5 separate regions of the Homo sapiens genome follow, and regions 1, 2, 4 and 5 are each linked to region 3. The links are contacts of gene promoters, found by promoter capture Hi-C in blood cells and fetal thymus (Javierre and others, 2016). All regions are on one chromosome and are shown on one strand. Each heading gives the region's core, a stretch centred on a gene start or on the middle of the fragment in contact. The rest is flanking DNA. Distances are from core to core; before and after follow the strand shown. Region 1 has its middle 41 kb from the start of LINC01548. Region 2 has its middle 13 kb from the start of LINC01548. Region 3 holds the start of EPCIP (exosomal polycystin 1 interacting protein). Region 4 holds the start of LOC105372787 (a long non-coding RNA gene). Region 5 holds the start of IL10RB (interleukin 10 receptor subunit beta).

Evidence for each region. Contacts are between HindIII fragments. The CHiCAGO score rates a contact against its expected background, and 5 or more counts as called.
Region 1: a fragment that was not itself captured here is called in contact with the fragment with the promoter of EPCIP in region 3 in 3 of 17 cell types (total CD8 T cells, M2 macrophages and M0 macrophages); the score reaches 5.3 in total CD8 T cells.
Region 2: a fragment that was not itself captured here is called in contact with the fragment with the promoter of EPCIP in region 3 in 3 of 17 cell types (M1 macrophages, M0 macrophages and M2 macrophages); the score reaches 8.3 in M1 macrophages.
Region 4: a fragment that was not itself captured here is called in contact with the fragment with the promoter of EPCIP in region 3 in 10 of 17 cell types (total CD4 T cells, M0 macrophages, naive CD8 T cells and 7 more); the score reaches 8.8 in total CD4 T cells.
Region 5: a contact is called between the fragment with the promoter of IL10RB here and the fragment with the promoter of EPCIP in region 3, in 6 of 17 cell types (M0 macrophages, naive CD4 T cells, non-activated CD4 T cells and 3 more). The highest score is 9.5, in M0 macrophages.

What each region holds. Positions count from the first base shown.
Region 1 is chr21:33,126,360-33,131,766 of GRCh38, forward strand. No RefSeq gene overlaps it. Among named protein-coding and RNA genes, the nearest start is that of LINC01548, 41 kb to the right of the region's middle. The HindIII fragment of the contact is 4,086 bases long and covers 1,436-5,407 here.
Region 2 is chr21:33,154,239-33,159,670 of GRCh38, forward strand. No RefSeq gene overlaps it. Among named protein-coding and RNA genes, the nearest start is that of LINC01548, 13 kb to the right of the region's middle. The HindIII fragment of the contact is 454 bases long and covers 3,390-3,843 here.
Region 3 is chr21:32,810,338-32,816,236 of GRCh38, forward strand. It overlaps EPCIP (exosomal polycystin 1 interacting protein), which reads right to left and starts at 3,366. Exons shown (of 4, transcript NM_001162495.3): 1 at 3,255-3,366; 2 at 237-317. The HindIII fragment of the contact is 1,895 bases long and covers 2,458-4,352 here.
Region 4 is chr21:33,193,547-33,199,307 of GRCh38, forward strand. LOC105372787 (a long non-coding RNA gene) reads right to left here and starts at 1,971. Exons shown (of 3, transcript XR_937675.3): 1 at 1,765-1,971. The HindIII fragment of the contact is 476 bases long and covers 2,232-2,707 here.
Region 5 is chr21:33,263,298-33,267,706 of GRCh38, forward strand. IL10RB (interleukin 10 receptor subunit beta) reads left to right here and starts at 3,070. Exons shown (of 7, transcript NM_000628.5): 1 at 3,070-3,217. The coding sequence starts at 3,169. The region is part of intron 7 of IFNAR2-IL10RB (IFNAR2-IL10RB readthrough); the gene reads left to right. It overlaps IFNAR2 (interferon alpha and beta receptor subunit 2), which reads left to right. Exons shown (of 9, transcript NM_001289125.3): 9 at 1-2,367. The coding sequence ends at 203. It overlaps IL10RB-DT (IL10RB divergent transcript), which reads right to left and starts at 2,963. Exons shown (of 2, transcript NR_038974.1): 1 at 2,766-2,963; 2 at 2,335-2,605. RefSeq lists enhancers at 2,586-2,645, 2,676-2,745 and a silencer at 2,916-3,325. The HindIII fragment of the contact is 8,663 bases long and covers 2,927-4,409 here.

The DNA.
Region 1 (5,407 bases), core at 2,229-4,728, 320 kb after region 3:
TATCCAAATCTGCATGTTAATAGGGACACTTTTATCTTTAAATATAACCTCAAAAAAAGAAGGGGGGACAGTATTCATTTAACTTGTTCACCGCCAACTCAAGAAAATGCACCTTTCCCTCAAAACCAGCGTTCCCTCCCTTGACCCATAAAACCAGAAAAAATGCAGATATGCTGAGTTTTCAAACATCTCATGTTTGCTGCAGTCCTCGTTCGAGGGAGAACAGCAGGAGAAATCCGAGCAAATGGCAAGAGGCCTCCACTGTTTCATCTGCTGCCAATGAGGTTTTAAGTGAGCATCACTGGAATAATGTCTATTAATAATTTGCACTTCTATAGCCCTTTCTTGAGGGTGTCTCTAAGTGCCCTCCCACGAACACAGGCCTCGCTTGCAGGGGAAGAGCTCGACACAGGAATGAACCTCCTGCCTTTGGGCACAGTGCCTCCCAGCTCCTGTCTCAGCACAGAGGCACTTTGTCTTTAAAACTCCAGCAAAATGGGGCCTGGGAGAGGTTTTTTTTGTTTTTTGGTTTTTTTTTTTTTTTGGATATATGTTTTATATATATATATATATATGTATACATTACGCAATTACAAATATAGGTCCCATGACACGCAGGATAAATATGGAATGCAATATCTTCAGATTATTTTCTTTCTCTATTTTTTCTGTCTCCTGCCTCCCCAACACACAAAATTTGAGGACTTTCGTTAACTATTTTAGTAGTCTATCAAACCAAGTGCCTGGTAGATTTCAGTATGGGGGAGTAGTGACAGTGGCCGCAAGAAAGGATCAGATGCAGCCACGATCGTTGTCAGAGATAAATAAACACGAAATAGTGAAGGAAAATGGGACAAGCACGCAGCAGTTTGCAGCCTGGACCAATCACAGTGATGCCTCTTGTGGTGGCCTGGAGCCCTCTGCACAGTCCGGAGAAAAGACTGCCGTGGGGATCGGTTTCTGTTCCGAGAGTACATAGCAGAGTGAGGCTGCTGGGGTTGAAGCCGCTTGTTTGAGTTTTCCAGCTCTAATCAGATCGTCCTCCAAAGAGGGAAGTCTCTAAGGAACCAGGAACACAGACCACATCTGCTGGTCACTTCTTTTCCCCCTCGTAGCTTCCAGCCACAGTCCCTCAATCAACAGCGCCCCTTACTGGCCAGAGGGTTGCAAACCCAGAGGGTACTGGGGTGTCTCAGATAACCGCTGGCAACCTGGAAATGGACATATCTGTATCATCCATCTCCAGTTATAGAATTTTGAACACACTATCGAGAGCAGCTGTTGCAATCCCAGCTCAAGTCTCACGGCCATCCCTCTGTCTTGAACTTGGTCTTGGCGAAGTCAGGTCTCTCTGTGGGAGTTTTATCATCAGGGGAGCTGCTTCTCCCAAGAAACCAATAACCACCAATACTGTGTGTGATCTTAGCAGATCCAAAGCTTCGAGAAGCCTTCATCAAGATCAGACATTGCGACAGGAGAATCCTGTTCCCTGCAAACAGGATGGATTTGGATTCTAAGTGGTTGAAGTCACAGAGCGGTCATTAAAATAACAAAGAGGCACTGGCCTTTTTCAAGCACCTTTCTGGACTTCTCCAAAGAAACCCTGCTGATGAGAGGGCACAGGGTTCATTAGCAATCATCTTGGGTCAGCTGATGACAGGAGTGAAGCCAAGGCTGGCACGGGCGACGACAGAGCAGGCGAGCAGAGTTGACCTGGGTTATTTTAGGTGAGGAGGTGGGCGCAGAGGGAGACAGAGAGGTGGAGGGAGTTTATTTTGGTTGAGGCACTTTATTTTGCTTTCTTGCTTGTGAGGATTCATTTCCCCTGGGTAATTTAAAGTTTGTAAGAACCTTGGAATTCCTTGGAGAGAAAGCACCATTGCAAATAAAGAGGCCACAGCACTAGTGATGGTGGAGAAAGTGGCCAATGCCGTATCTTTAGATGCTTGGGTTTTGGGTTGGGTAGAGTTTTTCGGCACGTTTGGGAAGTGGCTTCTTATATGCCCAGCTCTAGTTTGGGGGCTTCCCATGTGTTTTTGTGTCTAACATGTATTGTTCTCAGCACTGTGCTGATTTTCCATGTGTTCATTCATTTAATTCTCACAACAACCAAAATGCGTTAATTCATTCATTCTGAATCAACTTGTTTAATCAAGAGAATTTGACAATGCCCACCCCCTCTCCCTTGGAAAATAAGGGTTAGCCTAGCAGACTGCTCAGGGTCAGGCTTCTTAATCCCTTTCAATGCCATTGTCAATATATTGAACCCTATTCAGGAATCAGCAATGACTTTCCGTGCCTGCTCCATCAAGTCTCATTTCCTCTGCCTTGCTCAAAAAACCTTTTATAACCCTCTTTATAATGCTCCCACTTCCTCTTCTTCCAGCTGCACCTCTACTTCTCCAAACAAATGTAGAATCCCCATGGCAGTGAGTCGAGTGTCCTGGGTGAGGTGGGAGCTATTGTTCATAATCCATGTTGCTATTGCCCAGTAAGACACATTGCACCCCACAGAATATACCCATTGCCTTTTCTTCAACTTTGGGGGACATACCGAGTCTTCACTATACACAGAGTCTGCAGGTAGATAGAGATCTCTCAGTGGCTTTTCTAGGCAACTTGTTCCCGCTACCCCAGTAGGTATGGACATAACCTCAGCTCTCGACTCTCGGGGAGCACCATCTGGTCATCCATGTGAAAAGAAGAGACAACTCTACCCTGTTATAAAAACATGCCTGACACTTGGAAATAAAGCAAGGGAGGACTGCCCTTCAGTGCCAGCCTGGAGCACTCAGGGTCATCACATTCCCCAGGGGATATGCCTTTGCTTGACCCATTCATTATTGGGCCCAGATTCTGATGTTACATGTTAACTTGTAGATTTTTACAAAATAATTTCCCTTTTTCTTTTTTATTTTTCTTATTTATTTTATTATTATTATTATTATTATTATTATTATTATTTTTGAGATGGAGTCTCACTCTGTCGCCCGGGCTGGAGTGCAGTGGTGTGATCTCGGCTCACTGCAACCTCTGCCTCCCGGGTTCAAGAGATTCTCCTGCCTTAGCCTCCTGAGTAGCTGGGACTACAGGCACATCCCACCACGCCCAGCTAATTTTTGTATTTTTAGTAGAGACGGGGTTTCACCATGTTGGCCAGGCTCATCTCGATCTCTTGACCTCATGATCCGCCCGCCTCAGCCTCCCAAAGTGCTGGGATTACAAGTGTAAGCCACCGTGCCCGGCCTCCCTTTTGATTTCTAAATAATTTTAAAATTTTAGAAATGTTGCAAGAATAATGCAAAGACCTGTTTTTCCTAATTCACTTGAGTAATAAGTTGCTGACATGATGCCCATCACCCTAAAATACTTTAATGTGTATCTCCTATGATTGTGAAAGTCACCCACTTTCATGATCTAAATACAACCACCAAAATGAAGAAATTAACATCGGTACATACTATCATCTCATTCTCAAATGCCATCCACACTTCTCTAGTTGTTTCAATCTCACTAAACTTTTATAGGCAAGGGACCCAATCCAGGATTGCTCATCACACAGAGTTGTCCCATCTCTTTAGTCTCCTTCAATCTAGAACAGTTTCTATCTCTCATGACCTTGACACTTTTGACAATAATAGGCCAATTATTCCGTAGATGTTCCTTAGTGTAGGTTTTTCAGGTGATGCCTTATTATGAGGGTCAGGGATGTCTTTGGCAGAAACATCATCATAGAAGTGATGCTGGGTTCATCTTGTATCTGGCCAAGTGGCACACAATTTTAATTTACCCCAGTCCTGGTGACTTACATGTAAACGAAATAATGAAGGTGATGTTGTCCATGTGCCTCCGCTGTAAAGTTACTTTTTTCCCCCTTTGTAACATACAAGGATCTTGTGGGGAGGTACGTGAGCCTTTGCAAATATCCCATTCCTCATCAGACTTCACTCACTGTTTTTAATATCCACCAGTGTTTCTTCGTTGGATGATTATGATGGTTGCCAATAAATGATTTTCTAATTCCATCACTTTCCTAATATTTATTAGTTGGAATTAGTAATTTTTGTGTAGAGATAGGGTCTCACTATGTTGCCCAGCCTGGTCTCAAACTCCTAGGCTCAAGCAACCCTCCCACCTCAGCCTCCCAAAGTGTTGGGATTCAGTTGTGAGCCACTGTGCCCCGCCATATTAGTTAGAATTCTGCTTTTTCCACTTATACATTCATCTGTTTGTTTATATCGGTAGGAACTCAAGCGTACTTATTTTACTTATCAGGTGATACTCTGCTCCTATCGTTATTCATTTTTATGCCTCAATTATCCCAGTTCTGGCCGGTAGGAGCTCCTTCACTCTGGCTTCTGGGTTCTCCGGACATGTGCCTATAATTCTTTGAGCCCTTCTTTACTTCCTGGCACAAGACGTTCTAGCTTCATCTTGTACTTTCCCTGACTCCTCATCCAGCCTTGGAATTGACCATTTCTCCAAGGAGTTTGGGTTCCTTTAAGTGGGGACTTTAGGAACCAAGATCTGAGCACTGATGTATTGTCTGCTCCCGGGTGGCACTGTTCCCAGGCCCTCCCAGTGAACGGAACTAGGCTACATTTATATACGAGTTGACACTGACACTTCCAATTCCAGTCCAACACCAAAGGGCTTATTCTAGGATTTTTCCCTTCCACATGTGTAACTCCCTTCTTCATTGATGAGAAACCTGGTTCCCTCATCGACCTTAACATACATGATGTTCATAAGGTCCAGAAACAGTTAAATATATATAATATTATTAAAGCCATCTCCAGTCTGTAAAGTAATAATCATAATGTTGTTTTCTATGCATTCAGAATCTACAGACACCCCGTATTGGTTATTGGACCTGTCCTTCAGTGTGTATACAGTGCCACCCTGGCACCCCTCGCAGCCTGCACAGGCACTCTCACAGCCCCCGCCACGCCACATCCTCCTACTCCTACTCCCTGGGAGTATCACACTGCCAAGATGACTCCCCTCTGGCATCGCTCGAATTCACTACTGGGCTAAAAGAATGCCTGGATTCTCCTTCCTCACCACGGATTGCACGACCAGATGTCCCAGCTGTTATCAGAGCTTTCATAAGGTCTGGAGTTCAGCAGGAAAGTCCAGGTGAAATAGGCTTGTCTTGCCACGTATCCCTGTCAACGCTATTGTTCTTTTTGTCCCTCTCAGTTTAGTAGCTGGACCAGTTTCCATCTGCACACCATTGTTCCGGTGGCCCCCTCTCCTGGAACACACTCCCCACCTTCTCTGCACCCTTGGGGCACAGTTCAGCCCCATGCTTTCCACAAAGCCTGGTCTGGTCCCACGATCCTTCTCAGGACTTCTCTTTTGTTCCCTGCCATCGTCCTCTGGATGCTCCATCTAACCCTTGCTT
Region 2 (5,432 bases), core at 2,367-4,866, 340 kb after region 3:
GTACACATTGAGAATTACCATGGGGATGCCAGGTGCAGTGGCTCACACCTATAATCCCAGCACTTTAGGAGGCTGAGGCAGGAAGATCACTTGAGGCCAGAGATTCGAGCCTGCAGTGAGCTATGATTGTGCCACTGCACTCCAGCCTGGGCAACAAAGTGAGACCATATCTCTACAAATTATATTAAAAATAATTTTTGACCAGGCACAGTGGCTTATGCCTATAATCCCAGCACTTTGGGAGGCCAAGGTGGGTGGATCACTTGAGGTCAGGAGTTCGAGACCAGCCTGGCCAACATGATGAAACCCCATCTCTATTAAAAATGCAAAAATTAGCCGTGCGTGGTGGTGGGCACCTGTAATCCCAGCTACTCAGGAGGCTCAGGCAGGAGAATCACTTGAACCCAGGAGGCGGAGGCTGCAGTGAGTTGAAATCTCACCACTGCACTCCAGCCTGGGTGACAGGGTAAGACTCTATGTCAAAAAAAAATTTTTAACAAAATAAAAATAATTTTTTTATAAAAGAAACAAAATGCTGGGCAAGGTGGCTCTTCTAGCACTTCAGGAGGCTGAGACAGGAGGATCACTTGAGGCCAGGAGTTCAAGACCAGCCTGGTCAACATACTGAGATCCCCCATCTCTACAAAAAATTCAAAAATTTTGGTGCACCTGTAGTCCCAGCTTCTCAGGAGGCTGAGGTGAGAGGATTGCTTGAGCCCAGGATTCTGAGGTTGCAGTGAGCTATGATTATGCCACTGCACTCCAGCCTGGGTAAGAGAATAAGACTCCATTGGAAGGGAGGGAGGGAGGGAGGGAGGGAGGGAGGGAGGGAGGAAGGAAGGAAGGAAGGAAGGAAAGAAGGGGAAGAAAAGAAAGAAAAAGAAAGAAAGAGGGAGGGAGGGAAAGAAGGAAGGAAGGAAGGGAGAGAGATAGAGGGAAGGAGGGAAAGAGAGAGAAAGAGAGAGAAAGAAGAAAGAAGGAAAGAAAGGAAGAGAAAGAAAAAGAAAAAGAAAGAAAGAGAAAAAAGAAAGAAAGAAAGAGAAAGAAAGGAGGGAGGGTGGGAGGGAAGGAAGGAAAGAAGGAAGGAAGGAAGGGAAGGAAAAGATGCTGAGAAAAGGGCAAATAAATTCCGCCTGGGCTCAGTGAGGGAAAGTTTCATAGAAGGGTGACATTTGAGCTGAATCTTGAAGAGTTTAAAAAAAAAACACACACACATGAGGTGAAGGCATGGAAGAAAACATGTAGAAAGAAGGAAAACCCATCATTCTTTCCACTACTGAGCACACAGCATAAGCCAGACGTGGTAGTAGGTGCTGGAGACTCTGACATACGCAGGAAACTATGGGCGTGATGGTATTTTATTGAGGAATATGCTGTGAATGCCATGTGGCAATTTAGCAAATGAGGCTCTGAAAAGCAGCTCGTTTATAACTTGGCAGTTACTGACATGTGAATGTCAAATACAGACATGCACTTTGCCACATTTAGTCCTTCAGGGTTCGCTGGGACCAGCATGCATTCCACAGGAAACAAAAAAAGAGATCCAGAGGGAAAACGTGTTGCTAATCCAAGTATTTGAATAATATTTATCATGCGTGGAGTACATGCAAAGCACCTACTGAATGCTCTTTGTGAGTTAAAGAGGTTGGCAGATTTGAGTTTATGCAAACCAATATAATATGACAACATGATATCATTATGTCTATTATATTTATAGAATTATATTAACTTTATGTTATGTAGTTTTGCAAACAAGGTCCTGTCTATAATAATAGCAATTTTATTTTATTTATTTATTTATTTTTTAGACAGAGTCTTACTCCATCACCCGGGCTGGAGTATAGTTGGTGCCGTCTCGGCTCACTGCAAACTCCACCTCCCAGATTCAAGCGACCCTCCAGCCTCAGCCTCCTTAGTAACTGGGATTACAGACATGCACCACCACATCCAGCTAATTGATAACAGTAATTTTATTTATTTATTTATTTGACAGAGTCTCGCTCTGTCACCCAGTCTGGAGTACAGTGGCATGATCACTACAACTTCTGCCTCCTGGGTTCAAGCAATTCTTCTGCCTCAGCCTCCCAAGGAGCTGGGATTATAGGTGCGCACCACCACACCCAGCTAATTTTTGTATTTTTAGTAGAGACAGGGTCTTGCCATGTTGGCCAGGCTGGTCTTGAACTCCTGATGTCGGGTGATCCACCGACCTTGGCCTCCTACAATGTTGGGATTACAGGTGTGAGCCACCATCCCCGGCTGATAATAGTAATTTTAAATACTCAACACAAATATTATTTTTAACCCCTGCATCTTCCTTCAGATCTGAGAAGTTTCTTGAAGACCATCAGCATCTTCAGTGGGCGACTGGAAGATACACTGTGGTTACCTGGGAGGCAGCCCAGCCTGGACCAGCAACCCAACCTGCTTCTTCAGAGCAAAACAAGAACTAGGAATCATCTTTTCACCTGGGAAGGAATCAAGTAAAAAGCAAAATTGAACTAAAGGCAAGGGTGACATAATTTGTATTACATATAAATGACCAGAAACCACTGGTGGCCACAAAGTTTTACTTTGAGCTAATAAAACATATGCATGCATCTAGTGTAAATCTAAGAGTCTAAGGATGTTACAAGCCTGTTAAAGACCCTATTAACTCCATTCTTCCTAGATTTCCAGTATATTCTTCTTCTGAGATGTCACTTTGCAAATTTAGTTTTAACCTAAAATGTTTTAGCAAAAAATGGTGAACATATTTTGGCAAGATGTCATTCATATAGTTTAAAATAGTGCTTTCTAGGTATGAAATGACATCTGTGAGAGCCCCACCACTCACAAACCCTAACACACACTTTCCCTTTTGAAAATAATTTCGTATCTGAGTCACAGCTCCCTGCACATGCTTAACTTAAAGTGACTCCAAAATACGCCATAAATATTAACTAATTAATCCCCATGACAACACAGGGAAGCCCTGAAAAACTCTGGAGAGTGCCCATGGCCTGGGCAGCAGTGCCACAGCTTGATTTTTAAGAATCTTGTTCTTTCTAGGCTTTCTCTGATCAGGACATCCCTTATTGCCTTCAAAAAACAAGACAAAACAATGACAACTCAAGAATGTGGCAGTGGTGACTGCTGCTGCTGCTTCCCTTCCCTCCTCCTCCTCCCTCTTTCTCCTCCTCCTCCCTCTTTCTCCTCCTCCTCCCTCTTTCTCCTCCTCCTTCCTTCCTCTCTCTTCTCTCTCTCTCTCTCTCCTCCGCCCCACCCCACCAAAAGCAGAGCTGTTTATCCTTGGTGTTGACTATCAGACCCCGAGCTTGTAATTCAGCACCAAGGACACCTCTCATGCTTTTGGAAACTGCTAGACAGTCTACCCTGTTATAAATTAAAGCTTTGGTTTAAAGATCACCACGAAAACCAGCCCACCAAGAAAAGTATTCCCTGCCTCAACCATAATTGCAGTGATGACTTTCAGGCAAAAAAGTATATCTATATCTAATTATCTATATGTATTGTAATTATATTAATTAATATTTTAATTTATTTTAATTAATTCATAAATCTTAAATATAATCCATACTAAGCAAATGCCTGCTGAATGTTTGTATTTATAGTATAAAATAAAAGGCTCAAATGTCCAGGTGTTTGGGACCTCAGGGAGTGGCTGAGACCACATGGTCTTCATTTCACAGATGATGGAGCCAAGCTCCATTGAGACGATGGCATCTGCCTGGATTCCAGGAACTGGGGACTATTTTCTACCGACCACTCCTTCCATTATGTCTTTCACTAATATTAGGAAATCAGCCTTATGCTACAAGTGTTTTTATTTCCCTCCTGAGAAGCTTTCCCCTGTTGATAATTTTTTTCGAAAGCAGGTTTTTGAAAGAACATCTCCTTAGGGATTTATTATAAGTTAGCAACTTATGAAACTTTTGTATCCCCTTCACCCAGCCCCCACTTGTTGTTTATGCCCATTTTGCTTTAGAAGATAATAGGTCTTTTAGCTAACGAGCCTCTTGTTAAAAAAGGTAACATAAGTTAGAAAAGGTAAGGTCAAGGGCAGACCTGGGAATAGAAAGAGTGAGACCAAGAGAAACAAATGGCTCTGCATAATAATAATTAAAAAGTAGGCGCTTTCAGTTTTCTTTGGGTTGGCACAAAAGATGGGCATTACATTGAGAGTAATAACCTGAGAATTTTGGAGGTGGACAGGAACTTCATAGGAAGAGTAAAATCCCGGAACCCAGGAGCAGGCTGGGGCCAAGGGCAGTGATGGCTGGTAAAGGATGCCCCATGATGAGTTTAAGAGATCATTTTCTCAAAGTGGCCACAGCAATATCTCCATGCCTACAAGCTCTTCCCAAAAGGTGTCACTTTCCATCAATAGGTGGAGAGTAGGGATCAACCCCTTGAACTTGGGCAGGACTTTTTACTGCCTTGACAAGCAGAATGCACAGTGGAAGTGATGCTACATGATTTCTGAGGCTAGGTAAACAAAAGCAATACAGTTTCTGCCTGACTCACTCTCTCTCAGGTTGTTTACCTTTCAAACTTGGTGGCCATGTTGTGAGGAAGCCCAAGTGACATGAGGAGTTCCCGTGGAGGTGTGCTGCTGACAGCCCCAGGTGAGAGCTCAGCCAAGAATCAGCACAACACTGTGAGTGCAAACATGTGAGTGAGTGAGCTTGCAGAGGATGTGATCCCACCTAGGATGTCAGCATTCAAGACACCCTAGCTGACACTGAGTGAGTATAGGTGAAGAACATTTACAACAGTGATAATAGAAAACTTGTCATAAGTTTTTAATTTGTGCTGTAATTACACTCTGATATTCCCAAATCTTCAATAAAAATCCATTGTACAGTAAAACTTCATTAGCCTTATGTTGGAAATGGTTAAGAAATGAAGGAAAGGGACTGTGTCCATGTTGGGGCAGAGCAGTAGGAAAAGGGTGGCAGGCAGTGTAGCAATGAGGAAACCCTCAGATGTGATGGAGGGAAAAGCTAGGGGCTAGGGTGGGGAAAGAGGTGACAGGCATTAACCAGTGGAATGCAAGCTCACCCCACTCCCACACCTTCACACACACACCAGAAATTTTCAGAAGCAATGAGAAGGAGACTGGATTTCTTTTGAAAACAAGTTTTTAAACTACTGGCTTGGGATGCAATATTGCCAAGGTTTCTGCTAAAAGGTAGCCATATTACTTGAAAACAGAAGCACAAAACAACCACTGAATACACTGGATTAAGTGAACGTACTAGAAAACCACTACCTGGTAGGAAGAATGGCTCTGGTGTGGAGGAGTTACTACAAGCAGGTAAATAAATTTTTAAGGAAAAAGGGGAATTTACAAATTAAAATCAGATTTGGTTCCCAGTAAGAAACCCAAAATAAATCACTTACAAAAGATATGTTTATTTCCATCATGT
Region 3 (5,899 bases), core at 2,116-4,615:
CTCCGCCTCCCGGGTTCACGCCATTCTCCTGCCTCAGCCTCCAGAGTAGCTGGGACTACAGGCGCCCACCACCATGCCCGGTAATTTTTTTTTTTTTTTTTTTTTAGTGCAGACGGGGTTTCACTGTGTTAGCTAGGATGGTCTGACTCTCCTGACCTCGTGATCCGCCCGCCTCGGCCTCCCAAACTGCTGGGATTACAGGCGTGAACCACCATGCCCGGCCCTGATCTTCTTACCTGTTATTGTTGCATGTCCCCAGCTCAGTGCATGGCTGTCTTCTGTATGTGCGTCCACTCTCTTGGTGCCTGCATGCTGTCCTGTGAAGTTAAATACCACCTAGATGCTGATGGTGAACTGAGATACGTCTCTAGCTCCTGACTGCATCATGCTCACATGTCCCACATTGTATCTGATAGCTCTTTCTGAATGTCTAGTAGACATCTCCAACTTAACATGCCAAATACACAGCTCCTGATTCCCAAGAAAGTTCAGACTCCTATGAGAAATGTTACTGTACCAGTAATTCACTGTTCCTCAGCCCTGTGTTCCCAAGGCTAAGCTAGCTAAATACAGCAAATTGTCATTGATAAAGAGGCAACATACTATAATATATAAAATGTGATACATGTATGTTGTATACTGAAAATTGAATGAAATCAGGAACTATCCATATTTTTATTCACTAATAGTAAGATCTAATGAGTGTTTCTTTTGTGCCAGGTACTGTTAAGTGTTTCACGTGTTTTATGTTATTTAATCCTTTCTGTAATCCTACAGGTAGATATTATGGCCCCCCCTCCCCTTTTTTTTTTAGACCGAGTCTCAGTCTGTCACCCAGGCTGGAGTGCAGTGGCACTATCTCGGCTCACTGCAACCTCTGCATCCCGGATTCAAGTAATTCTCCTGCCTCAACCTCCCGAGTAGTTGGCATTATAGGTGTTGCACCACCACGCCCAGCTAATTTTTGTATTTTTAGTACAGACTGGGTTTCGCCATTTTGGCCAGGCTGGTCTCGAACTCCTGACCTCAAGTGATCCACCCACCACAGCCTCTCAAAGTGCTGGGGTTACAAGCATGAGCCACTGCATATGGTCCCATTTTCATATCAGGAAATGATACATGGGTACTCAGGGAGGTTAAATAACTTGTCCAAGGTCACAGAACTAGTTAATAATGGCTAAAATTTGAACCCAGACAGCCAACTATACTCTGAAGAGTCATGGTGGAAATTACAGCGCTATTTCCTACCCCAGGGTCTTGGGCCTATTCAAGTGAGATTCCATGCATTGTATTCTATTACTAGATGCTGTAGCCTTTAACCTATATGTGTATAGAACCCTCATGCTAAATGCTATGATTTGAATGTGTTTCCTAAAGTTCACGTGTTGGAAACTTAATCCCCAGTGCAACAGTGTTGAGAAGTGGGAGCTTTAAGGGGTGACCTTTAAGAGGGCGGTGCCCTCATGAATGGATTAATGCTGTTATTGAGGAGTGGGTTGGTCACCATGGGAATAGGTTTCAAATAAAAGGATGAATTTGACCCCCTTTCTCTCTGTCTCTCTTATGTGTGTGCACATGTTCTCTTGCCCTTTCACCTTCCACCATGGAATGAAACAGCAAGAATGCCCTTGCCAGATGCAGGCCCCTTGACCTTGGAATTCCCAGTCTCCAGAACCATAAGAAAGAAATTTCTGTTCTTAAGTTCATAATCAGAATAGAGGACAATATGAGCAGAGTGCTGCTTCTGCTAACATAGGTATGGAATGTGGGACAAAGAATTCTCAGAGAGTGAGCCACTGGGAAGTCCTAACTAAAATATGTGGCTACCGTACTTTTCTACTTGACACAGTCCTTGAGAGAGTGAATTAGGCAATGAGTGCAAATCCTTCAGGCTTTCCCCTTGAGTGACTTGGTAGACACTCAGTTAATTGCATCACTGGGGTTCACATCCACAGCTTTGCACAGCTGCCCCTTGGTCCCACGCCCACAGAACTGTGAGGCCTGCCTGTTCTTCCCACTGGGGCCTATTGACCTATTAGCTCCCACAGACACAGACACAAGCCACTGGGCACTGAATTTTAAAAGCTGATAATGTGGCAGCTTTAAGCAGTGAAAAATATTAGTGTGGAAAAGAAAGATGAGAAATCCAAGTCAGCTCTTGAAAAGCACTCATTTCCATAAATACTTTATTGAAACTGTTATTTTCAGAAAATGCCCAATTTCTGTCAGAAAAAAAAGTAATGAAAAGTCTTTTTTTTTCCTTCCAAACATATTGCATTATTTAGACTAAAAAAAAGCAAAAAACTTCTCAAGGATGGCTCTTTTCGGTAAAAAATTTTCAAACAAATGAAGTCTTTTTTTTGGTATTTTTTAAGGGTGGGTTTTTTATAAATATTATGCACAATGTTTTTGAAACATTTCCTGTCCTCAGTATACACCAACATACTTTTTGCTAAAAGCTTTCCAAAAATATGCTTATTAAACAAAGAAATAAATGCAAGACTGTATATGTTCTACTCATTTTGAATTAAAACATTCCCCTCTTCATCTTGCCTTTTGCTACATTATTTATCATGCTTTTTCACTTTTGAATAAAAGACCAATTTTTTAAAAACACGAACTATCCAATCCAAATGTTAATGCTCATCTTAGCTTACTTTCTTTTCTTTGTTTTCTAATCAGCAAACTCTATAAAGCCTGGTGTGTAAATAGGCAGTAAATATAATATTATTAAAAGATAAAACAGAGCAAAGAAACAGTATCAGCCGGTGTTTTGGGAGTTCTCACTTTTCTTTGTTTGTGATCACAATAAGGAAAAGAGATATCATATCTCTTTTCCTTAATTGTTATTTAGCATTGAAGACTAATGGAAAAGTCTAGCCAGATGTTTTAAAATAGAGACAAGATTTCAAGGAGCTATCTGTTATATTAGCTTTAAGTGAGTTTATCTTTTTAGGGTTTAAATGAGAAGACCATGTCATTCTTTGCTTAATGCACTGAAAATCTTTCATTTTAAAGGCAGAATCTCAGTAAAGAGGAATTCATATGCCTGGAAGCCTAAAAAAGTGTTTCATAGTGAAAGCCACTCATACATGTACATTATGTTCAGGAAATGCAAATGCAACAAGAAGGTGACCCTGACAATGGTTCTTCCAACCGTCACAGTTCCTGCCATGCAGCAGAAATTCTGAAGCTCTGAAAAACTGTCAGACTAGACATGCTTTTTAAAAAAGAAGAACACAGAAATTACTTACATCTGAGAGTTCCACCGTGAGGCCTCGCCTCTCCACTCCACAGACCTCTGCCTGGCCACGGATCCTTCACCCTGGCTTGACAGCTGGTTTAATCTGCAAGCCAGGGTGGAATGCGTGGTCTTGCACTTGCTGTTCTTTTCCGTCTTCGGAGGGCCAGCAGCCTGGTCATTTCCATGGCAACCAGGAGGAAGCTGCTGGCCTACCAGTCTCATTAACTACACGCAGGAGAGAACCTGCCTTGGTGACTGCTGACCACTCTTTTGGGGTTCTAAACTGGGAAGTTTCTAGAAGAAACTGAGGAGACTGTTGCTGTAGGCTGATCCCAAAGGATTGACACAAATGGAAGAAATTCTACTTTAGCAGGAAATTGAATGGATTAAATGTAGAGTACGGAGACTCCTTGATACTTTTACTTTCATGATTTATTCCACCTTTTTTGGTCTGATGAATTGTTACTTATGGTAAATGCCTGCACTACTGTATAAAGTGTCCTATCGTAGTTGTTCCAAAGAAAAAAAACTCATTTGAACTCCAAAGATAGACATTATTCTCTGTCTTTTTTAAAATTCATTTAAAAAAATATTAGAAGCCACAAAACCAATAAATAGGTAACAATTATTCTATGTACATTAACTGATAGTCCATGTGGGCTTCTATAACAAAATACCATTAGTTGGGTAACTTACAAACAACATATTTATTTCTGTAGGCTGGGAAGGCCAAGATCAAGGCAGATTTGTTTTCTGGTGAGGGTCTGCTTCCTGGTTCATAGATGGCACCTTCTAGCTGAGTCCTTACATGGTGGAAGGGAAACTGTGGTTTCTTCAGCTTCTTACAAGGGCACTAATCCCATTCATAAGGGCTCCACCCTCATGACCTAATCACATTCCAACATCTCCACCTCCTATGCTATCACATTAAGGATTAGGTTTCAATATATGTATTTTAAGGGAAGATAAATACCTGGGCCTTAACAACTGATGAAGTCTCACTAAATATGGGAAAAAAAGATAAGGCAGGGGTCCCCGATCTCCAGGCCACGGACTGGTACCAGTCCATGCTACAGTAGGAGTTGAGCAGTGGGTGAGCAAGAGAAGAAGCTTCATCTGTATTTACAGCCGCTCCCTATCAATCACATTACCACCTGAGCTCTGCCTTCTGTCAGATCAGCAGTGGCATTAGATTCTCATAGGATTGAATTGAGAATGCTATTCTATTGTGAACTATTGTGAACTGTGTATGCGAGGGATCTAGGTTGCATGCTCCATATGAGAATCTAATGCCTGATGATCTGTCACTGTCTCCCATCACCCCTAGATGGGACAGTCTAGTTGCAAGAAAACAAGCTCAGGGCTCTCACTGATTCTACATTATGGTGAGTGGTATAAGTATTTCATTATATATTATAATGCAATAATAATACAAAGTGCACAATAAATGTAATCGCTTGAATCATCCCCAAACCACCTCCTACCCCTGCCTGTCTGTGGAAAAATTATCTTCCATGAAACTGGTCTCTAGTGCCAAGAAGGGGACTGCTGAGATAAAGAAAAATCTTGCTAATTAAAAGCACTAGGAGTCTGGAGCAATTGATTTGTAATTACCCAGATACAGATTCTCCAATATGTTAAAGAAGAGAGCACCTCAGTAGGGAAATTTATTCATTCATTTATTTATTATTCATCTACTGAATCCTTACCACACACATGCACTGTGCCAGGAGATTTAAGGGGCACAGAGATCAATGTCATGGTTCTTGTCTTTAAGGAAGTTATACTATAGGAGGGGCAATTATGTAAGTTGCATCTGGGAAATGTTTGAAGGGAGATACAGACACAATGCAGGGGAATCCCAGTGAAGGTCGGCCTTTGCCAGGGAGACTGGTGAAGTCCTTGGGGAGAGGTAGTTTTGGATCTAGGCCTTAAGGGATGGCTGAGATCTGCATGGTCAGATGTGGGGGAAAGGACAACGATCTCTCATGGAGTGATTATTTGATGAACTGCGGATCCAAGCTGATGGATATATCCTTCCTCCTTTCTGCACCCAGAGAGCCTGGCACAAATGGCTTCTCGGTGGCCCACAGGATAAAGGAACTCAAGTAATTAAGAAAATTGCTGGAGCAAAGGTTTGGAGGTGGAAGAGTCCCAGGCCTATTCAGCCATTTGGAAAGCCAGTGAATCACAGCCAGAATAAAGGGAATTGAGAATAGAGAGAGGCTGCTATTGTTGGGTGATCAGTTTCAGCAAAGCACATATATGAATTCTACCATGTAAGAATAGCAAAGTGGATCTTGGTTCAAACCTTGAGTCTGTTACCTTCTTGCACATTATTTAAACTTTATAAGCCTCAGTTTCCTTATCTATAAAGTGGGTATAATAATACTTTGTTGAAAGGTAGAGCTGAGGAAAAAATGAGATAATATATGTGCACTGGATGCCTGAAGATGAGGGAGGGAAAGGCTGGCCAACAATACACCGAATACCCCAACTTTCCAGAGCAACTGTGGCTAATCCAATGGTTTGGCGTACTCAACCTCTATTTCAACATCTTTCTGTCTTGCCTGCCTCTACTGTAGAGACTGGAAATCTCTATTATTCAACACAACAGAGTCTCTTGAAGCTGAGGTTTCAGATGGGATTTAAGTT
Region 4 (5,761 bases), core at 1,220-3,719, 380 kb after region 3:
ACCCCATCTCTGCTAAAAACACAAAATTAGCCAGGCATGGTGGTGCATGCCTGTAATCCCAGCTACTTGGGAAGCTGAGGCAGGAAAATCATTTGAACCCGGGAGGCGGAGGTTGCAGTGACCAGAAATGGCACCATTCCACTCTAGCCTGGGCGACTAGAGCAAAACTCCATCTCGAATAAATAAATAAATTCAGAGGTTAATGGCTTGACTCTTAGCATAGACACACAGATGTTACGCTATAGATTATACCAGGAAGAGGTGGGAGGAGCCACACATCCCACATCAGAAATAGCCTTTGGAAAACTGCAAACTGGATTGCGTGTGCGTTTGGCTGCAAAATAAATCATGAGTTTCTCCCAAACATTAGATGGACAAAGGAACAATTCACTTTTTTTCCCCACTGTGATCCATTCACAATGGAGTATATTCCTGGAGGATTCTAAGATGTGTTTTGTTCACTAGAGAAGACTTTTTAGGAGTGTTTAGTTTAGGAAATGCTTAGCTGGCTATAGAAGACAGGCGCACATTCTTATCTGACTACAGAATCCAGGTGTCACCTGTGGAGTTAACACAAGGCCACAGATGGCCGCCTTCAAGGTGACCCTGCCCAGAGCCTAGGGAACAAGGTGAGGGTTGACTGAGAAGGGAAATGGTGGTCCTGCTGAGAAGGACATTCCCCAAGCTCATGGTCTGGTCCACAAGCCATCGGTCACACAGAGGGTCACACAGATATGGGATGCCCAGTTAAATTTTAATTTCTGATAAACAATGAATTTGTTTAGTATAAATAAATATGTCGTAAATATTGTATGGGACATACTAAAAACATTACAATATAATTTAGTACATGTACTATGTACTAGTATATGTACTAAATTTTATATATGTGTATTTTAATATTAAAAGTTAGGCCAGGCACGGTGCTCACGCCTGTAATCCCAGCATTTTGGGAGGCCGAGGCGGCCGGATCACCTGAGGTCAGGAGTTCAAGACCAGCCTGGCCAACATGGCGAAACCCTGTCTCTACTAAAAATACAAAAATTAGCTGGGTATGGTGGCAGGTGCCTGTAATCCCAGCTACTCAGGAGGCTGAGGCAAGAGAATCTCTTGAACCAGGGAGGCGGAGGATGCAGTGAGCCGAGATCGCACCACGGCACTCCAGCCTGGGCAACAGAGTGAGATTCTGTCTCAAAACAAAAAAAAAAAGGAAAAAGAAAAAGAAAAAAAGTTAGTATGTTATACCCAACACATATTCAAGGTTGATCTGAAATTCAAATGCAACTAGGTATCTTGTATTTTTGCTAAATGTGGCAACCCTCGCACACAGCGATTCGCTAGTGGCTTTGGAGGGCAGAGGAGGTAGTTCCCTGAGCCCTCCACGTGACTTTTCCTTCTGTCCTCCCCTTCTCTGCTCAGAGGCCCCTTCCTGGGAGAAGGCTTCGCTGATCACTCTGTATACCACTGCACCCTTTTCCCACACTCCCGGCCCCCTTAGCCTGCCTTTTCCTCCATAACTTATCATTGGATGACATACTACATACTTTGAGTAAATGATTTTTTTCATCTTTATTCTCAGCCCTTTGTATTATGTCTGCCACAGAGTGGGCCTTAAAAAATATTTGTGGAACTGCATGAATGAGAGTGACTCCATGGACAAGGATAAAACACTGAAAGTAAAATAAAGGCAGAACTAAGGTAAATGAGTATTGCCATTTCGACTCACCTGATAGATCTGTGTGTTTTAGTCAGTGCAAAACTCACCTGGCGAAGGGAACACCAATGAATAAGATGACGATTAGGTAGGTCCAAGGTGGGGCCCAAGATTCTGTAGCCCTACCACGTTCCCAGGTGATGCCGATGTAGCAAAGAGAGTCCTTGAAGAGAGGCAGGGCACGGTGCTCACGCCTGTAATCCCAGCACTTTGGGAGGCTGAGGCAGGCAGATAGTTTGAAGCCAGAAGTTTGAGACCAGCCTGGGCAACATGGTGAAATCCAGTCTCTACCAAAAAATACAAAAGTTTATCAGGCATTGTAGCATACACCTGTAATCCTAGCTACTCAGGAGGCTGAGGCACGAGAATCACTTGAACCCAGGAGGCGGAGGTTGCAGTGAGCCAAGATCACACCACTGTACTCCAGCCTGGGTGACAGAGCAAGACTCCAACTCAAAAAAGAAAAAAAAAAAAAGAAAGAAAAAGAAAAAGAGAGAGAGAGAGAATCATTGAAGAAAGCTTGGATCCAGGTAAAAATAAAGAGCAGGACACAACCAGAAAAGTCTGTGGTTCTGTTATATCATTGGACAGTGTAATGAAATGTAATGTGTTTTAAAAAATAAAAATTCTATATTCCTAAATCTTGAATAGATTCCTATTTCAGAAACCATCCATTCTGATGAGTCTCCCTTAGCTCTGAAAGAAAGAGGATAAAAACCAAATACAAGAATAATAAAAACCACCTGTCCAAGATGAACTGGAGAAAGGGTGCTAATCTCCCTGCGACAACTCCTACAACTGTATTTGATCAGGATGATAAGAAAAGTTTTAACTCATGCCTCAAGCAGAGCCACAAGACCTGCCTTTTTTGATGACCTTGAATTCTACAACACAGGCTCCAAACCTCACATCTTGTCAACTCTCACCATGAGAAAAGTAGGAAACACTCTCTCACGTTCCCAAGTACTCACCATACCCCCCAAAATAAGTAAAAGCTTACTTTAAAAAATAATTTGTTTTCAGAGCAGAAATCTTCTAAAAGTTGAATTCTGATTCCGTACACACCTGCGGAGAGGTACTTGCCATGCCCACTGTCTAATATGCTTCTCTTTCTATGAACTAGGGTAGGGGTTACAAATAGCTGCCATAGAGTTACTGTCATTATCAGCCTGCAATCTGTGAGCAGCTGTTAAAAACCCACATTTTGTCTCAATTGTAATCATTCAAACAAATAATGCTTACCTACAGTTCAAAAGAAGTCAGTCTGGAATTAAGTGCTGTTCATACCAATTATGTTTCTTCTTTCAGATGTATGGAAAGGGAAAATAAATTATCCATTAAATTGCAGATATATGTAAAGATGCTTTTTGTAGTAAAAGCCAAAACAACTTGAATCTGACCTGTGATTAGAAATAACAGACATTTGAAATTCAGTAACTTAATTCATTGACAATATCACCAGGTTAGTTATCAATGATTCATTCAGTTTTCTTTTAAGCATTATTAATTGCTTGATACCATTTAGGATCAGGAAACCCTTAGTGCAGTGAAAATTGTAAAAGTTTATGACCTGGGAGGCCCGTGTCTAGCCATGCCTCTGTCAGGAATCTGTGGTGTGACTTCTGACAAGAGTTTTATCCCTCTGGATCTGTTTCCTTGGCTGGAAAGTGAGGAAATCGATCCAAAGATTACCTCGCAGATTCTCTCCAACTCTGACATTCTATCATTTCACACTCACTTTAAAATAGACTGTCGGCGACCCTACGCCAGTTTTCCTTGAGAAACAGCGCCACCTTCAGGTCATAATAACCATAAGAGAGCTGACCGTGAAGGTGCTTCTCCGGCAGGAGCGATTTGCCCTGATCCACAGAAACCCTTCCCCCGCAGTCCTCTGGGATGCGGTCACACACTTGTGAGTCTGCCGCTGGGTTAAGATCAATGCGTATGGACATGGAGCCAAGCTGAGCTAACTGGCCCACAAGGGACAGATGCATGACCTTGGCCTAATTATCACAGCTCCAGCTAACAGTTCGCCCACAGCAAAGCTCCTTGTGGAACCCTATAAAGAAGGAAAGGAAGCGAGGGATATGCTGGATGAACTAAACTCTACAAAACAATGAAAATGGACACACCTCTTCTTCAGGCAATTCCACTTAAGATAGTTTCCAGCTGTTCTTATTTTAGCAAGATATCTACTTGGATATACTTTCATTAAGAAAAATGACATAGTGAACTCTGAAGTAAATATCAGATTTTTTTCACCCAGCAAATATTTATTGAGCAACCAACCACTTGAATGCCAGCACCGTGCTAAAAGCTCTCACAAAATTACTTTTATTGAATTTCCACAACAGCCCTTGTGAGAGAGGAATTCATATCTTCATTTTTCAACACAAGGAAGTTGAGAATGAGAGAGGCCCAGAAACAGCAGATCTGGCAACAAGCTTGAATATGCAGACACAAACATTCCACACAGTCCTCCTCTGAGGACACGACGCAACTGCTCCTTTTCAAGAGCTTATCACTTGGCACAGTGTGGCACCAACTGCAATCAGCAGTGCAGAGGCAAAGGCCGCTAGGGAACTCAGTTTATTTCTCTGCAGTGTGATCTGTATGCAGAAAATGGCCCTATCTTTGCCAGCCATCCTCTGCCATACCTCCCTAACCCACTGATGGATGCTGGGCAGGATAAGGGGGATAAGTTAATTTGTTCCTAAGTGTCTAAACAAGGATCCTTCTTAGAAACAGTGGATATTTAAGGTTGTCCCTTTGATCACATCCCAACAATCCCTAAATTCCATAGGCTTTCTTGGTTGGGAAAGAGGCAGAGCAACTGCTACCCATGGGAATGCATCATATTTGGAAATATAATGTTTCCTGTGCATTACAGAGGAGAGAAGTGGGAAGCATCGCCCGGTGCTGGAGGTACTCCAGCTACAGGTGGTACCCTCTATATCTTACTCTTTCCCGTACCTACATATGTGTAGTCAACTCCAGTTGATGAGATCAGGTTTTCAATTCTTTGTACCCCCCCACTGCACTTTGCAAAATACTGGCACATAAATTTAAAGTTACTAAATATTTGCTGGTGTGTTAGGAAAAACACATAGTCTGCATGCAGAAAACAGGAATTATACAAACTAGCATGATCAGACATATTTAAGATGTCAGCTGAGTTACTCTAGGGCAGAGCCCAAGGATGAAGCTTGGCTGAGGGAGGATAGGGGAAGTGCCTTGGGACCTTTAGATTATGGGTGGAAGGAACAAAAGACCCACATGGAACAAGACACTAGAGTTGGATTGACCCTTTGGGGAAGGAGAAGTTACGATATGACATCTAAACCGCAAGGAAGATGCCAGAAAAAGAAAGAATAATATATTGTGTAAGCAAGCAATTTCTTAATTTTAAACGTGTTTTTATATTCAGGTGAAATTGTTTTATTCAAGGTTGAATGACTACTAAGTTGCAGCTAATCAGAAGTTGAGAAAGAAATGCTTGGCAGTTGGAATCCAGTTTTTGCACATAATCAGAACCAGTACTGTCAGTTTCATGGCGTCTCAAAAGCTAAGACTGAGAAGGAAAAAGGGAACAGAGCCGGCCTTGTCACACCACAGACGGGAGCAGAAGTGCAGAACTGTCCCCATGGCATGTGTTCAAAAGAGTATCGTGTAGCAAACCCTAACCACAGCAGCAGTGGCTGAGCTAATCCTGGCTGGATCCCAGTAAGGCCCTTCTCGAGTCCCAGCAATGACGATGGTAGATTAGCAATCTCTTCTCAATGTGTCAATATCATCTATGTTTCTACCCTGCTAGCCTCCTCTTTTCCTTCTTTCTACCCCACCCTCAATTAACCATGCCTCCTCTTACAATTTCTAGTCTGCAAGAGACTAGGACAATAGAGAATCAAAAACTAGGGTAGAAACACAGAGGCTGCTGTGGTTAGCGCTTGCTGCGTGATAGATAGGTTTGGTTTTGTAGCAATAACACAAGGCGGAAAGTGATAGAAAATTCAACATTCTAACTGCAATTCACCAAATCTTATCTCC
Region 5 (4,409 bases), core at 1,820-4,319, 450 kb after region 3:
TATCGTCTCATCTGGAAGAGATGGTTGACCCAGAGGATCCTGATAATGTGCAATCAAACCATTTGCTGGCCAGCGGGGAAGGGACACAGCCAACCTTTCCCAGCCCCTCTTCAGAGGGCCTGTGGTCCGAAGATGCTCCATCTGATCAAAGTGACACTTCTGAGTCAGATGTTGACCTTGGGGATGGTTATATAATGAGATGACTCCAAAACTATTGAATGAACTTGGACAGACAAGCACCTACAGGGTTCTTTGTCTCTGCATCCTAACTTGCTGCCTTATCGTCTGCAAGTGTTCTCCAAGGGAAGGAGGAGGAAACTGTGGTGTTCCTTTCTTCCAGGTGACATCACCTATGCACATTCCCAGTATGGGGACCATAGTATCATTCAGTGCATTGTTTACATATTCAAAGTGGTGCACTTTGAAGGAAGCACATGTGCACCTTTCCTTTACACTAATGCACTTAGGATGTTTCTGCATCATGTCTACCAGGGAGCAGGGTTCCCCACAGTTTCAGAGGTGGTCCAGGACCCTATGATATTTCTCTTCTTTCGTTCTTTTTTTTTTTTTTTTTTGAGACAGAGTCTCGTTCTGTCGCCCAAGCTGGAGCGCAATGGTGTGATCTTGGCTCACTGCAACATCCGCCTCCCAGGTTCAAGTGATTCTCCTGCCTCAGCCTCCCTCGCAAGTAGCTGGGATTACAGGCGCCTGCCACCATGCCTAGCAAATTTTTGTATTTTTAGTAGAGACAGGATTTTACCATGTTGGCCAGGCTGGTCTCAAACTCCTGACCTCAAGTGATCTGCCCTCCTCAGCCTCGTAAAGTGCTGGGATTACAGGGGTGAGCCGCTGTGCCTGGCTGGCCCTGTGATATTTCTGTGAAATAAATTGGGCCAGGGTGGGAGCAGGGAAAGAAAAGGAAAATAGTAGCAAGAGCTGCAAAGCAGGCAGGAAGGGAGGAGGAGAGCCAGGTGAGCAGTGGAGAGAAGGGGGGCCCTGCACAAGGAAACAGGGAAGAGCCATCGAAGTTTCAGTCGGTGAGCCTTGGGCACCTCACCCATGTCACATCCTGTCTCCTGCAATTGGAATTCCACCTTGTCCAGCCCTCCCCAGTTAAAGTGGGGAAGACAGACTTTAGGATCACGTGTGTGACTAATACAGAAAGGAAACATGGCGTCGGGGAGAGGGATAAAACCTGAATGCCATATTTTAAGTTAAAAAAAAAAAAAGCAAACACAAAGATGCTTCAAGATCTTCAGGAGAAGTATGGTATACAAGTTTCAGGGACCCTATTTGACAATTTTCAGAGTGCTCTCTATGCTGATTCCGAGTCGAGTGTGTCAGCTGTGATTACAGTGCCTGTGGATCTAGGCCGGGTTGGGGGGGTGTGGGCGGGGGAAGGGAAGTCTGGCCCGGAGCAATTGCTCCTGCCGGTAACCCCAGCACTTTGGGATGCCTAAACAGGCGTATCGCTTGAGGCCAGTAATTCGAGACCAGCCTGGGCAACATGGCAAATCTGTCTCTACAAAACAAAATTAGAAAAATTAACTGGGCGTAGTGGCATGTGCCTGTTGTCCCAGCTACTTGGGAGGCTGAGGTGGGAGAATGGCTTGAGCCCAGGAAGCGGAGGTTGCAGTGAGCCAAGATCATGTCACTGCACTTCAGCCTGGGTGACAGAACCAGACCCTGTCTTTAAAAAGGGAGTTGGTGGGGAGAGGTTCTAGAATGTCATGTAGCAACCAGTTTAAGGACTGGGACTCAGGGATCCAACTCCCACAGTTTCCCTGTGTGACCCTAGGCATTTGACTTAGCCTTTCTGAGCCTCAGGTTTTTTGTTTCTGAAGTAAAAGGATTGGACTAGGTAATCTCCAAGATCCTAGGAACCCAGGAGAAAGATGAGAAAATGTACAAGAATGAACACTCAGGTGGAAATGCTGCAATCCTGAGAAGCTCCCAGGATGAATGAAAGGCACAGGACCTCTTACCCCTCACCCCTGCCCCCCTCAAGAGCTGGTTTCTCAAACCTTTCTCTTAGGCCCCTTCAAAGGGGGAAAACTAAAAATTATACAAGTTATAGTTCAAGGACTTTAAATAGATTATTTATATGATTGCTCATAAGGATGAGGCTGTGAGGAGGGAACACCTTATTTAATCTAATGAAATTCCATAGGAAAGAGGCCTTTTGTATATTGAATCAATTTATCTGCCTTCTCAGTGCATCTGTCATATTCTGAAAGATTCTGGGTTGATCTTTTGCGATAACCTCTATGGCTGTGAGTGTGTGTGTGTGTTTGTGTATTTTTTAACATTTTGTATAATGATTGGAGGTTGGTAAAAAGTAACACAACAGTACTTTTTTAATACAAACTTGGTGTGGTCTTGAGTTGTCTTCCATTGGAGAGCGTACGTGTGCCACAGATTGGTGCACCTGCCGGCATCTCTAGGATTGCACCAACTCCCTCTAGCTCTTCTTGGTGGCCTGCAGGGGCCTAGGGCGCATTCACTTCCCTCTGCTTGACTTTACGTGGTGTTCTAGCGTCAGACATCAGGCGATGCCGTGCATTACCCAAGACACTGGACAGCTCCGGATCTTCCCGTCTAACCACTAATCAAGTTAAAAAGAGGAAATTAACGCTTTCTTAGTAGTCTCTGAAAGAAACTAGTTATTTGCGTAAAGATGACTTGGTTTTGTGTTGTTTATCCCTGGGGAGAAGGGTAAAGAAGACCCTCAAACTGGATTTGCTGCTGAAGTGCTTTTAACTCACCTGTGCGGAGAGCGGACTTCAAGAGAGGGCGTGCCGGTGCTCCGGACAAAACCTGGGGAATACTGAAAGCCACCACCACCACCGTCATTCCAGCATGCAGATCTCAGTCCTGGGTTGGTGTTGTAGGGCATTTATTTATTTGACTTGACGGCGCCTTTCAAAGCTTGCGAGGATCCCTTCCTCTTCCTCGTGTGCATCTGCCAAGCCTGTGCCCCGCGCCTCGCGGGTGGACCCGGGCTGGTGGGCGGGGCCTGCAGCGGGGTGGGAGCCCGGTCGCCCGGCCCCTCCCCACCCCGCCCCGCCCATCTCCGCTGGTTCCCGGAAGCCGCCGCGGACAAGCTCTCCCGGGCGCGGGCGGGGGTCGTGTGCTTGGAGGAAGCCGCGGAACCCCCAGCGTCCGTCCATGGCGTGGAGCCTTGGGAGCTGGCTGGGTGGCTGCCTGCTGGTGTCAGGTGAGGGGTCCGCGGGGAGGGGGCGCGCTTGGGAACCGGGAGGCCCCGCGAGATGCCGCCCCTGATCCCATCCCTGGGCGCCCTGCAAGTGACTTAAGAGCCTTCGGGGCCTCGGGAGAGAAGATGCAAACGCCACGGCCGGCTGCTGAGACGCAACTAGGCTGCTGCTGCCGTCGATTCTGTAACAGGAGAAAGCCCCATCCGCGCCCGGATTACAGACCGTCTGGGCCCTAAACTCAGGGGGAGACTCCCGGCGTCTTTTGATTCCCTGTCCTCCTGCAGCTCTCTGCTGGCGGGCGTCTAAATAAAGTAGCTTCCCCAAAAGACCCAAGATCCCACCGTGGCTGTCATCTGACCCTTCTGGAGACTATCAGTTCAAGTGGAGGCCCCCACCAGTCCCCGAGTGCCCTGACAGCCCTCCCTGACCCCAAGTCTGCCCCCTCAGTGCCAGCCCTCCCTACAGATGTGCCTCCCATCACCCGCTGCACCTCCCCTCCTTCCGGTTCAGGCCCGAGCACCCTGAAATCTGGATTCTGTCCCCCAGCGCCCCAGCTCCATGGCTTCTAAACCTAAATCCATTGAAACCTTTTCTGTCCTCTAAATTGACTGCCTAGGTTCCAATAACACCATGGTCACCTCCTTCCTTTCTCATGAACTCTTCCCTGGCCTTCCGGGATACCCCTCCGGTTTCCCGCCCTGTCAGGCTGTCTCTGCTTGGGACCCTCCTGCTCTGTCAGGTTTCTATGTAGCTAATTGTGATGCCCAAGGCCTTTTCTCTCCTTCCCTGGCACTGTTCCTTTGGGGGATTTCAGCCAAACCCTGGCATTAAACACGGGCTATAGGCCCATGACTCGCACATTTATATCTCTCTTGGTACCAGTTGGGTGATGGGTGGTGGTTTATTATAGTCTTCTACTTTTCTACTTGCATGTAGGTTTCAAATTTTCTTTTCTTTCTTTCTTCTTCCGTTTTTTTTTTTGTTTGTTTGTTTTTTTGTTTTTTTGTTTTTTTTTGAGACAGGGTTTTGCTCTGTTGCTGTGGCCCAGGCTGGAGTGCAGTGGCTTGATCTTGCCTCACTGCCACCTCCGCCTCCCGGGTTCAAGCGATTTTCCTCCCTCAGCCTCCCGAGTAGCTGGAATTACAGGTGTGTGCCACTACGCCTGGCTAATTTTTGTATTTTTATTGGAGATGG